Regions from separate parts of the Homo sapiens genome. Here region 2 is linked to region 1. Evidence: promoter capture Hi-C in 16 types of primary human blood cells and fetal thymus (Javierre and others, 2016). All regions are on one chromosome and are shown on one strand. The core of a region is centred on a gene start or on the middle of the fragment in contact, and the rest is flanking DNA. Distances in the headings are between cores, read along the strand shown.

Region 1 (6,227 bases), core at 2,674-5,173:
TTGTGGTATCACACTGCTTATGTTCAAGTAATCCCCCTATTTTTTTAAACTTAATTGTTCTATTTTATTAGTCATGTGCTACATATGATGTTCTGGTCAAGACAGTGATCCCATAAGACTATAATGAAGCTGCTGGGTGTGGCAGTGTGTACCTGTGGTCCCAGCTACTCGGGAAGCTGAGGCGGGATCACTTGAGCCCAGGAGCTCAAGGCTGTAGTAAGCTATGATCGCACCACTGCACTCAGGCCTGTGCGACAGAGTGAGACCTGCTTTCTTAAAAAAAAAAAAAAAAAAAGGACTATAATGAAGCTGAAAAATTCCTATTATCTAGTGAAAATGTAGTTATTGTAATGTCATAATGTGACACATTATTTATGCAAATCTATGATGAAAGAAATAAATCAGGCAAAACACCATAGGCATATTTCTGAAAAGAGCAACATCTCCCAAAGAGACTGAGGAAGGTCCTTCAGGAGGTATTCTGGAAGAAGGCATTGTTATCATATAAGATGACTGCTCTACATAGGTTACTGCTCCTAAAGATCTTCTACAGGGACAAGATGTGGAGGTAGAAGTCAGTGATATTGATGATCCTGACCATGTGCAGGCCTAGGCCAATATGTGTGTGTCTTAGTTTTTTTTTTAAAAAAAGTTTAGGAAAGTAAAAACAAAAATGTAAATAGAAAAAACTTATAGAATAAGAATATAAAGAAAATATTTTGGACAGCTGTATGATGTGTTTTAAGCTAAGTGCTATAACAAGAGTCAAAAAGTAAAAAAATTAAAAAGTTTATAAAGTTAAAAGTTACAGTAAGTTATTACTGAATTTAAAAACTGTTAAATTAAATGTAGCCCAAGTATAGTATTTATAAAATCTACAATAGTGTAATGTCCTAGGCCTTAACATTCATTCACCACTCACTCACTGACCCACCCAGAACAACTTCCAGTCCTACAAGCTCCATTCATACACCACTCACTCACTGACCCACCCAGAACAACTTCCAGTCCTACAAGCTCCATTCATAGTAAGTGCTCTATACAGGTATACCACGATTTTTTTTTTAAAGGAATGGAATCTTGTTATGTTACTCAGACTGGCCTCAAACTCCTGGATTCAAGTGAGTCTCCCGTCTCACCCTCTCGAAGTAGCTGGGACTAGAGGCACACACCACTACTCCTGACTCCATTAAAAAAAAAAACCTCTTATACTGTAATTTTTCTATGTTTAGATATGTTTAGATACACAAATACCACTGTGTTGCAACTGCCTACAGTATTCAGTATAGTAACATGCTGTATAGGTTTGCAGCCTAGGAACAATAGGCTATACCATATAGTCTAGGTGTGTTGTACACTACATTATTTAGGTTTGTGTAAGTACACTCTATGATGTTTCTCTAATGATGAAATCGTCTAACCATACATTTCTCAGAATGTAACCCGGTGGTTAAGCAATGCCTGACTGTATTAATTATTGTTCATCTCTTATTGTGCCTAATAATATAAACCAAAAATTATCATCATAGGAATGTATGTATAAGAAAAAATACCATAGCATATATAGATAGGGTTCAGTACAACCAGCAGTTTCAGGCATCTACCTAAGGTTCTTGGAATGTATCCTTTCAGGATAAGGGGGGACTACTGTGATTGAGTTAAGGCTCTTGAGAGATCATTTTGGATTATCTGGGTAGGCCCTAAATCCAATGACAAGTGTCTTTATAAAAGATACACAGAAAAGGAGGTGCAACGTGAAGATGGATGCAGAAACTAGAATAATGTGGCCACTAGAAAGAAATACAGAGGGGAATGTGATGTGAAAACAGTGGCAGAGATTGGAACACTCTAGCTACAAGCCAAGGAAGGCACCACCAGAAACTAGAAAAGGCAAGGAAGGACTCTCCCCTAGAGCCTTCAGCGGGAGTATGGCTCTGCCAAAATCTTGATTTTGGACTTCTGTCCTCCAGAACTGTGAGATAATAAATTTCTGTTGTTTGAAGGCATCCAAGTTCGAGTATTTGTTTCAGCATCCACAGCAAACAAATACAGGCCTTAAGAGAATATAATTCATGGTACATTATATTCTTTTCCTTTAAGTACCATTAAAAACAGAACAAAAAAATCTCTGAGTTAGATTCTGCTCTACACAGATCAAAGAGGTATTAGTAAATAATTTGTGAATAGCTGTACAGTTAAAACAGCTCAATTTCTGTAAACTTAATGTTTAATGATGTTTTAATACAAAACTATCCCTTCAATGACTGAGACGTATGACTCTTTAACCTACTAAGAAATTACTATAAGAAAATAATTATGTTGTAAACTATCTTTCATTTATCTTCACTTATCTTCTGACTGCCTGACAACTAACATCAAATTTTATATTTCATGTACCTGTCTCTTTTCAGAGTAAACTGCTTAATGTCATCTATGTCTCCCTGTTAAGTTCTTTTTATCTTGAAATTAATTTTTTTTCATGTTGCCTGATGTATAATTAGATGACACTTGGTACTGTGTAACCTACAACTGGGAGCACAACTCTTAAAGTGGCTTAGTTTCTGGAAGTCTTGCCATCAAGATAAAGCTAAATTAAATAGAGGAAATGACACGACGAGTGTCTTTCCAGCTTTGAATAAATTCAGAATTAAAGTCTGTCATCACGAAACAATCTCTTCCAAACCTTAAGTTCTATTTTTAACCATTTAAGTGGCAGATGCCAGGTTATTTCAAAATATCACATACTATTTTCTTTCTTTCTTCATTTGGATGAATGATACAGTGGAGTTCATGCTCTTGCAGGGTCTACCGGTAGGAAGTCCATTCATGAAACCATCAATGTCACTGGTTGCCACAAGACATTTCAAGGAAGAAACTGGCAGATAGAACTAGCACTCGTGGCAATGGAAGGTAGGACTCCCCAACCTCTCAGACTCAATCCCCCACCACTTCCGCGTTGGAATCCGCGACCCTCTTCCCAGAGTTTTCCTGTGGCTTGGGTAGGTCAGCCCTGGGGGCGAGCCAGAGCGGGCACCCGCGCGCCCAGGGGCTTGCCAGCGCAGACCCCACTCCGCCCGCGAGTAGCTTAGTTGGTGGGGAGACTTCAGCTGTCACTCTCGGCCCGCAAAGGCAGATCTGCCCCGATCCCTGCAGCCCTCCCCAGTCCCGGAGACAGGTGTGGGCCGCAGAGGGAAGGGGATCCGGACCAAATGCCCACCCGCAGGCGAGCGACCTGGCGAGGTCGGGCCCACCTTCCTTGGGTTGTAGCGGACGCCGGCAAGCAGGGGTCCAGCGAACGTGGGCATCTGCCCGGCGCCGGATTTTCAACCCACCGCCAGAGATAAGGCTCCCCGCCCACCAGCGAGCCACTTTCCCGCGCGGACACCTCTAACTCCGGCAGCTCAGGCTGGGAACTCGGAGATCCAGAGTGGCCTCCCCTCCCCCCCGCGCATACGTCAGCGCTAGCGTCGTGGAAGCGCCGTAATGTCCCGAAGAAGCGCGTCTCCAAACTTGCACCCCGCTGCCGCAGCTTCAACGGAGAAATCCCTTGCCCCAAGCACACGTCAGCCCTGCCCGCGGAGTCATGGCACAGCAAAAGAGAGGCTCTCCATGGAGATATGCTCCAGAAGGGTGGGTGGCTGTGCCTAAAGGTTTGTTAGAAAAGGACAGTCAGTGAGGCTTGCTGGCTGTGGCGCCTTACGACGCTCTCCCCGACCCCTCGTCATTCAGAAGGTTCCGCAGGTCTCGACAGCGGTGCGCTTGTCAGCCCCATCCGGCGGCCAGCCTCCCTTGCCGGATCGCCCACGTTGTCGGCCTGGTCCGAGTTCTTCATTTCAAAGCATCTGCACCTGCGAGCCCGCGGCCAGAGGCGCTGGGGGCGTTTGTGCGCGTGTATTCTGAGGCGCGTGGTAGTGATGGCGGCGCTCAGTGAGACTTTCCTGTCACTGGCTACTACTACTCCCAACCCTCCTCAAAGCCGCCGGAGCAACCCCCAGGTCTTTACTTTACAATCGGCAATTTGACTTGCTCTGCTGCATGTCTGGAGGGACCAAGGAAAGTGTGGAGACGCTCCAAGGATTAGGTGATCGGAGCTTGAAAAGAAAAAAAGCCAAACAAATAAACAAAACCCACCCACCCTAACAAATATGAGGCTGCTGGAGAGAATGAGGAAAGACTGGTTCATGGTCGGAATAGTGCTGGCGATCGCTGGAGCTAAACTGGAGCCGTCCATAGGGGTGAATGGGGGTAAGTGCTGCACCTCTGCCGGCTCCACCGCGGCTCCCACTTCAGAACTAATTTGTGAGTCTTGGAAAGGTGGGGCAACCCTCATTGCAAGCGCTTGCCAATTTCAGGGGGCACTGACCAGCCTTTGGCCCTTTTGCTGATTTTCTAATTTACCAACCCCAGAGGGAACTTGTAATTAGGAACGAGGCAAAGGAATTTGAGGGCAGGTAGCCTTTTCCGTAGACAAACAATGACTATCCTGAGTGTCAAGAAGTGAGGTTACAGAGAATGAAACTTACTCCTCTTGCCTTCAAAGTAGCATCCTATCCCAAGGGAATCTAGGTTGCTAAGAGTTCCGTATCTATCTTGGAGTGGACCTCATTATCGAGTCTACTTTCGAGTCCTCCCCGCCCCCACATTAAAAAAAAAAGTGGAGGAAAAACAAGAAAAGGGACACCTCCGCCCCCAACTCAGATTTTATGGCCCACATGTTGGAGAGTGATGATTTGCTGTAGTTGCTGGTGCTCCAGAAACTCCCAAGCCGACTGACACGTTGCACTCTTTGATTACAGGACACTTCATTACAGCATACTTCCGTGTGCTGCCGGGATTCAGTTGCTATACTAGCAGTCTAACAGATACAGACTGTTAGACTATGTGTAGTGTAGTGTAGTGTGTGTTTTGGCAAGGAAATGTGGATGGACTGAAAGCATACTTAGATCTCTGAATAGTGGGAGCTTTGTACAGGAGATGATGGGCACTGGTGGGAACATTAGAAATATTAGTTTTTTATGCCCCCCCCAACACCTTTAGACAATCTTGTACTACTTTTCATAAACATTAATTGAATTTATTCAATTCGCTTGTCTTTTTGACCTTGTTTGTCAGTTTCCAAGCTTATTGACAGGTTTAATACCTAACTCATGCAACCGGAGCAAATAAGGATAGAGGTGAACAGGCACAATATTTCATAGTAGGAAGCGCTCAGGAGGATATTTGAAGTTATTTTTATCTTTTTGTTAAAACATGATGGAAGTGAATGAAATGATCTCTTAGGAGAACAGCAGTGGTCCCTTCTCCCCTTAACCTCCACCCCATTACTCTGTTTAGAAGTAGCTTCCGGGAACATTTTAAAAGGAATTATTTAAACCAAAATTGTGGAGATGAAGGATTGTTTGTTTTAAAATTTTGTTCTTCTGTATTCAACTTAGAACAAAATGTGTAGAATATGTAACTGTGAGAATAAAGCAGTTATTCCTGGTGGTTTCTCCCTCTGATTGATGGTAATAGTTTCTTCTTTAACACTGCTGCTCTGTGAACTTTTGGGAAACTCTTGTGAAGATCAGGTCTGTCAAATGAAGACCCCCTATCCCCGGAGCTAAATGAATAGTAAGACTTAGAGTACCTTTGCATGATCTGCAATGCACACTTCACTAGCTATCGCTTCTCGTGTTAGATCTCTTATTTGCTCAGTTTTGAGATGAAATTACAGAGGATGTATGATCTTTAACTTTAAATCTGCAGGGGCTAAGTTTGGCAAAATATCTTTTACCTTGCATTCCTAAATATTCTGTGGGAAGAAAGGTGTTGAATGCTGAATCATTTCCGTGGGGCTTTTCTGCAGTGGCATGTATGAGATAGATTCTGCAAACTTATGTGTTCCATAGACTCTGCTTATTAATATTTTGGTACATTATTGTATCATAGAAATGCCATTTCCCATTTCCACTAGTCCTTCTGTCTTTAATGTAGGATAATTCATTCCTTTGTTTAATTATAATAGAATGTTAAGAGGGGGAGGGGAATATTTAAAGTGTTTTAAGCCAACATGCTTCTTTTACAGTTGAAGATACCAGGTGACTCTCTCTAGGTTAAGGTAGCTAGCTTAGGGAAGAGGAACTATTGGAGACCAGGGTATTTAAAATTCCTGGGAAACTTCTACTTCCCAAGCAAGCCAGATTCCTTGACTTTAAAATCTGCTCCTGAATCACCTTGCTTAGCTG
Region 2 (6,227 bases), core at 1,890-4,389, 420 kb before region 1:
TAGAGGTTGTTATGTCAGTAATAGCATTCAAACTATCAGTTGTGTCACCTGACCTTCCCCCTAGAATTCTAGGTGGAGAAGATTGAGGAAGCAATGAGAAGAATTACACAAGGAAGAATCTGTTTGAAAAACCACTCTATTCTGTCATTCTGTTAATTCAAAAAATATTTTTGAGCACATACTGTATACTAATCCTTGCATACGGTACAAGGGAATTCAGAAAACAATAAAACAAAGTCTCTGCTTTCAAGGTACTCACAATCTTTCAGGCAAGTTTGGTTCCCATAAGCCAAACACCATGCAAAGTTATACTGATAAAATCAAGGTAGGTCTAAGAGAAAGGAGGCGAGAGGAGGAGAAATTAATTCTGTGTAGTGAAAGGAAGAGGTATTCTGGAATCCTCAAAACTTTCAGAAAGGCCTGAGTTTCTAGATAAAGTTGCAGCTGAATCTGGCATCCTTTGGTTTTCATCAGTTTCCTTTTTTGCTTAAGCCCGTTTGTGTTTTCTGTCACTTGCAAACAAAGTTCTCTAACTGAAGGAATTCTATGCTAAACAGAAGGAGAAAGAGAGTTAGTCAAAGAACTTCTAGTGAAAAAACAGCAAGTAGGAGAAGTAAGTCCAAAGAAGCAGGAAGGAACTACCTAGAAAGCCAACTAAGACAGCCTCCTGTGAGAAAGGAAGGTGCATGGAATTCACAAACAGACTCTAAGTCAGAAAAAGCAGCAAGGACTGGAAAAGAATTCACACAGGTCACAGTGGAGTGTGTTAAGGTGATGCTGAAACTGGAAAATAAACTCATGAGAATAGAATGAGAGTCTTACTGGTGTGGGGGATGGGGTGGAGCCCAATTACAGATAGTCACAGTGCTCATTGAATGTATAATGTAAACATACTTGGAAATAATTTAGTAATTTGTTACAGCAAATGAGATGTTAGAATGAAAGTGTGGTTATGGTTGATATGCTTGTACTCTAAATAGAATCGATTTATGGTTAATAGAATGATTCGTGTGAGCAATATCGCTGGCTCGTTCTCCTACAATGTGTGTCAGTAGACAAGGAACAATAGCCTAACTTTCCAGCACTTCTGTATTTTAGAAGTAACAAGTGGCAAGCCTCACTCTCTTGCCCCATATATATATGAGGGAATGAGCAAGGAATTTCACTTCCTTGCACTCATGTCTGAGAGAAGAGATGGAATGATGGGCCGAGATTAATACGATGATATTTATTTAGTGTAAATATAAAACCCTGAGTTTCAGGTAAAAATGCAAAACAAATAAGGACAGATGCAGGGAGATTCTCTGAAAGAGACCTTGAGTATTTAGCGAACCACAATTCAAAATTGAATTGTCTGTGGGGACATGACAGGAAAAGGCATTTGTGGTGGGTTCTGACTGCAAGAGAGGCTGAGGAAGAGGAGAATGAATGACTTAGCTAGATGGATAAATTGGCTTCAGGTCACGGGGATCATGAATGCCTAGCTCAGCGTTTTCCCATCAATCCTGTGGACAAAAGAGAAATGAAGAAAAAGCATTGAGAATGCAAGGCCACGAAAGAAATGAAAGTGGCAAATTCGAGCCTCTTGGGTTACGTGAAAATGCCTAAAAGCGAGCTAACTTCTGAAAGCAGCCCTGCTTGAAAAGCCTCAGCTATCTGGGGGCCCCGCCCGGCCGTCAGTAAGCTCCACCCCTCGCCAGACTCCGCCCCCAAGCCCGAAGAGTCTGGGAGCTGCCCCAATCCCGAGGCCCGGTTTAGCCTAACTCCACCCCCGGCCGTCATGCCTCGCCTCTCTGTTTCCGTGGAGACGCTCTCGGCGTCCCCTGTCTCCGCTCCGGCGGAGCCAGGCTTCGGAATCACTGAGAGAGGAGGGGGCAGCGCCAACGCCCAGCACCTGCCGCCGGTGGGGGACTGACTTCGGCGGAACGGAAAACTGGAGTTGTTTCCCTGGGCCAGTGCACCGAGGTTCGTGACGGCAGGGGCGAGGTTGGGACCGGACTTCCTCAGCTCCTTGGAGAGGCAGGCTGTTCTTCAGGCAGCCCCTTCCCTGACCCCTACAGCCAGCCCTTCCTCCATCAGTCTTTCTCAAGCTTCCTCAGTCCAGGCCCTCGCCACTTACCTCAATAAACGAATTGAAAGAGAAGTAGGGAAAGGCGCCAGTTCCTCTTGCTCCCCAGTTCACCTGACCCTCTGAGGGGAGTGAAAAACTAGGCATAGGATAAGTCCTTTAGTCCTGTTGAGAACTAGGTGGGAACAGAAAGGGAACTGAGATGCTCTCCGTTTTTGGCAAAGATAACTGTATCTCGTAAATTTGAGAGAACAAATGGTTATCCCTAATGTCACATTTGTATTGAAATACATCAATACATATACATATTTCAGATGTTTTGGCATTTCACTGATTTAGTGATTAGTTTCTCTCATAGGATCTATACTTGGGGATTTTCTTTAAAAGTTCATCTAAACTTAGATGGTAGGAAGTATTTGTTGTAAGAGTGAATCTTATTCCATGACTTGGAGCGGGGAGAGGAGTTACACTACTGAATGATTTTAAATTTTTCTTCTTTGCTATTATTCTTTGCTTCCTGATTTTCAGGCTGAAGTCTATAAGCCTGGAGAGACCATCAGCAGTAATCTGCAAATGTAAGTCACGTGAAATATGGCTTGCCTTCAAACTCATTTCCTGCTTGATTTTGTGATTTAGCCATCAATGTCAGCTGGTAGGAAATGTGTGTTTTCTATTTATTTTACTAAACAACCTATCTACCCATGAGAGAGTGCCAGAAGTGTCCAAAAATTATGATACCGAGAATAAACATTATTACTGACTCTTTATAAACTTAATTATGTTTTTTTTTTTACTTAGGGAGCATAATTAGTGATATTTCTTCTGTAGTTTTCATTAAACTTTCATAGTAAAAGAGCTTGGATAATATGAAAAGTTTTAATTCTTATGAATGATTTTTAGTAAAATCCTACTTGTTTTGAACTCGTGATGATGTATAATAAACTTGCTTACTGTGGTTTACTGGCTTTATTTCTCTAATCTCAGTTTTTACTCCAAAGTGACTGAACCCTGCAGACACTGGTCAGCCTCAGACATAGTCATTCTCCAAGTAGCCTCCATTTACATAGTAGTAGGTCTCCCTCCTTTGTGTTTCCTGATAAAGGCATCTCTGGGGATAGAGGGCAGGAGAGTTACTCTTTGAAGAATTTTACTTGGGGGCCAAAAATTTAAGCTCACACCATGGGACACATTCAGCCTGACCTAGCACTCTCAAACCTTTCATCCTGTATTTCTCCATTTTCATTTGTCTTTGCATGTGGGGGCCAAACTTAGAGATTGTAGCTGTGATACAAGAGCCAACCAGCAGATCAAAGAGTACACCAAATTTCTTCTGAATACCAACAGTGGAATGGCTTCAGGCGGCCTTTTGATCTTTGTCTCAGCACCCGATGATGCCACACTGTAGCACTGCCCACTTGCTAGCACTGGCGGAGGTTCCTGTGGGTCCTCCTAACAGGCTGATTCAGCCTGAGCTCCTGGGGCTAAGCTCATTTGGTAGCAGCCAAAGAGGTATCTTTCATTCTTCTTCTTTCTTACTCACCTGAACCTGAGCAATTTCCCTTCCTGCAGCCACACCATCTTGTGTGTTTTCCCCTGAGATGTTGATCTGGGAGAACCCTAAGGAGGTGCCATAACTAGTGGTGATATGCTCCATTTATGCTACAGGCCTGGGTCAGTCACCTCATAGCACTAGTCCCATTCTTCATTGTTGAGTCTAAATTGGAGCTCACATGGGAACTGAGAATGCTGTCTGACCAACACCAGGAAAATGATGCAACTCATATTAACAAAGACCAAAAGGCTTTCTTTACAGGTATTTAATTTAATGGAAGTACTGCAAACCCTGCTTGAACTTGTAAGGCATAAAAGATGGCAATTACTTAGATAAGAAACTAATTTGTTACAGGACCCCTTTAAATATTTGCTGCATTCAAAATATTAACTCTGTCATAAAATTCAGATCACACATTATCTGTTGTGTAAAACAAAATACCTTATGTGGCCACGTATTGATTCTGAGAAACAAAATTCACTTTCCCGATGGGCATAGGTAAGGTAGGATGTGGGGTTCAGAAACAAAGAGAAAGCCTGTTCAACTTCCATCCTGACTCTAAGCTTAAACTGTCCAACATAGATTGATTGAGGGATATTTTTTCCAACATGCTTTTTTTTTTCCACTTTATCATTCAGCTCTGATAACTTTTTTTCCACTTTATCATTCAGCTCTGACCACCCCCCATTCAGAGTTTGTGCCTTGAGGCTTGCCAGCAGGGCTTGCAGTACTTACATTAAACTAAATTTAAGAGTAAAGGTGCTCCTGCTGCTAATGTTCTCAGATCAGAGGAGAGCAAAATGAAGGAACTGGCAGCTGAAACTTTAATGGTAGGAAACGTTGACTCAGAATTTTGAAAAAAAAAAAAAAAAAAAAAAAAAAAAGCACAGTTGATCTGTATGACAAAGAAGACATATCCCTCTCCATGTATGTCATTTGCATTTGGTTTCTATTCCATGCTTACATTTTCTAACAAAAATCATCGAACTCAAGTAAACATCAAAAAGGATAAATTTTATATAACATGCTGGTATGCCAACTTTGGTGGGGAGTTATACGCACCTGGATGAGCTATCTTGGCTGGATCAGCACCTCTGGGGGCTGCTCTCTTTTATCTGTCTACAAATAGCTGGATGTTCTTAGTATTCAAGGAAATTGCAAGCACTGTTCCTCATTTTGAAGCTCCTGGGTGAACTCTTCAAAGACCCCTGCAATTATGAAGAGATTACCCTGGCCCCAGTGCCCACTGCATAATGCTTTGGCAAGTAAAGTGGGGCTTTTAGAAAAGAGTCTAAAATTTATAGAGGATGGAATGCCCCAAATGAGGCAAACTTAGTTGTTTTCTTCTCTCCCTTTTTAAATTTACTAGGGCTACACTGGTGTGGGTTAAGAACTTAGATGATTCCGATGTTCACTGTAACATTGGAAGACTCTGGAACTCTGTGGAAAAGTCTTCACAGCTCCTCTGAAGTAAGCTCTTGGGAGGCCCGTTTGGGGAGCTTTGGTGTCCCTTCAAACCTCACATGAGTTATAACTTCTTACCATATGCTCTGTATGATGCTGCCATTTAGTAAGTTCTTGTTATTCCAGTAACTCAACTGTTTAATATAACATCTAATCAGAAAAATAGATTTTTTAAATTAAAAAAATTGTCATTACGTTATGAAGTTATAAAGGGTAATATAGTATGTTTCTAATGTTTAGTCTGTAGGAGAGGACTAACATTTGCTGTTTAGATTGTGCACTTTAAAGCATAGACCCTTTAAAGGGTAGACCCTTTGCTTTCCAATTAATGTTCATTAACTTCCACTCTTAATGCCTTAACTGCATAAAATAAGTGGGCATTTTGTTTCATAGATCATATCATGCCTTGATAAACTGGTAGTACTAGGATTCTGTTATATTTAAAATAAACCACTGATCTCCATTAGAATTCTCTTTAATTATGTAAAAAATTATTTTTAGGCCAGGATAATAATCTTTTTCAGTAACACAAAGCTGTCTATTTCTACACTGAATTTCAGAAGATTTTCTCTCGTCTTAGTGCTTCTGCACCCCTACCTCCACCATGGCTTTGTAGCACTAGAGGAATATTGTGTCTTAGCTATCCACAGGTGGTTCTATTTCAGGTTTGACTACATCTCTCCTTCTCTACTCCTACCTAAGCCACCACTCTCTCTCCCCTGTATTTCACAGGAGGTTTTGGGCTGGCCTCTCTGCTGTCTACCCTTTCCCCCACTACAGTCTAACCTGAAAGAAAAACTCAGAGTGATTTTTTCAGGATGCAAGTCAGATCGTGTCAATTCTATGCTCTGTATCCTCCAATGGATTCTTACCTCAATAAGAATAAAAGCCAGTTTTTAGAGTAACCATCAAGACATTACACTATTGGGACACCGAACAAAATTCTCCATAACGTCTTTGAGCTTGTCTCCTTCTGCTTTTACTCATCCCTTTGCCATTGGTGAGCATCTGGGTAGTTTCTAGTGCTCTGCTTTGTTTTCCAGCAGAGAATCTTATCAACATCTGAGGTTCTATATATTTTGCTTATTTGTTTAGTGTCTTTCTCCCTATTTACCCCCATACTGCAAAGTCTGTGAAATCAGA

The links. The method cuts DNA at HindIII sites, captures the fragments that hold promoters and counts their contacts. A CHiCAGO score of 5 or more calls a contact.
Region 2: a contact is called between a fragment that was not itself captured here and the fragment with the promoter of SLC10A7 in region 1, in 1 of 17 cell types (fetal thymus). The highest score is 5.3, in fetal thymus.

The regions. Positions count from the first base shown.
Region 1 is chr4:146,519,636-146,525,862 of GRCh38, reverse strand. It overlaps SLC10A7 (solute carrier family 10 member 7), which reads left to right and starts at 3,923. Exons shown (of 12, transcript NM_001029998.6): 1 at 3,923-4,245. The coding sequence starts at 4,146. RefSeq lists enhancers at 3,076-3,155, 3,326-3,745, 3,756-3,835, 4,056-4,125, 4,566-4,795. The HindIII fragment of the contact is 7,940 bases long and covers 1-5,122 here.
Region 2 is chr4:146,941,447-146,947,673 of GRCh38, reverse strand. It overlaps TTC29 (tetratricopeptide repeat domain 29), which reads left to right and starts at 1,810. Exons shown (of 13, transcript NM_031956.4): 1 at 1,810-1,965; 2 at 2,597-2,643. It overlaps TTC29-AS1 (TTC29 antisense RNA 1), which reads right to left. Exons shown (of 7, transcript NR_188447.1): 2 at 4,683-4,828; 3 at 2,120-2,243. RefSeq lists a silencer at 1,678-1,817. The HindIII fragment of the contact is 2,093 bases long and covers 2,093-4,185 here.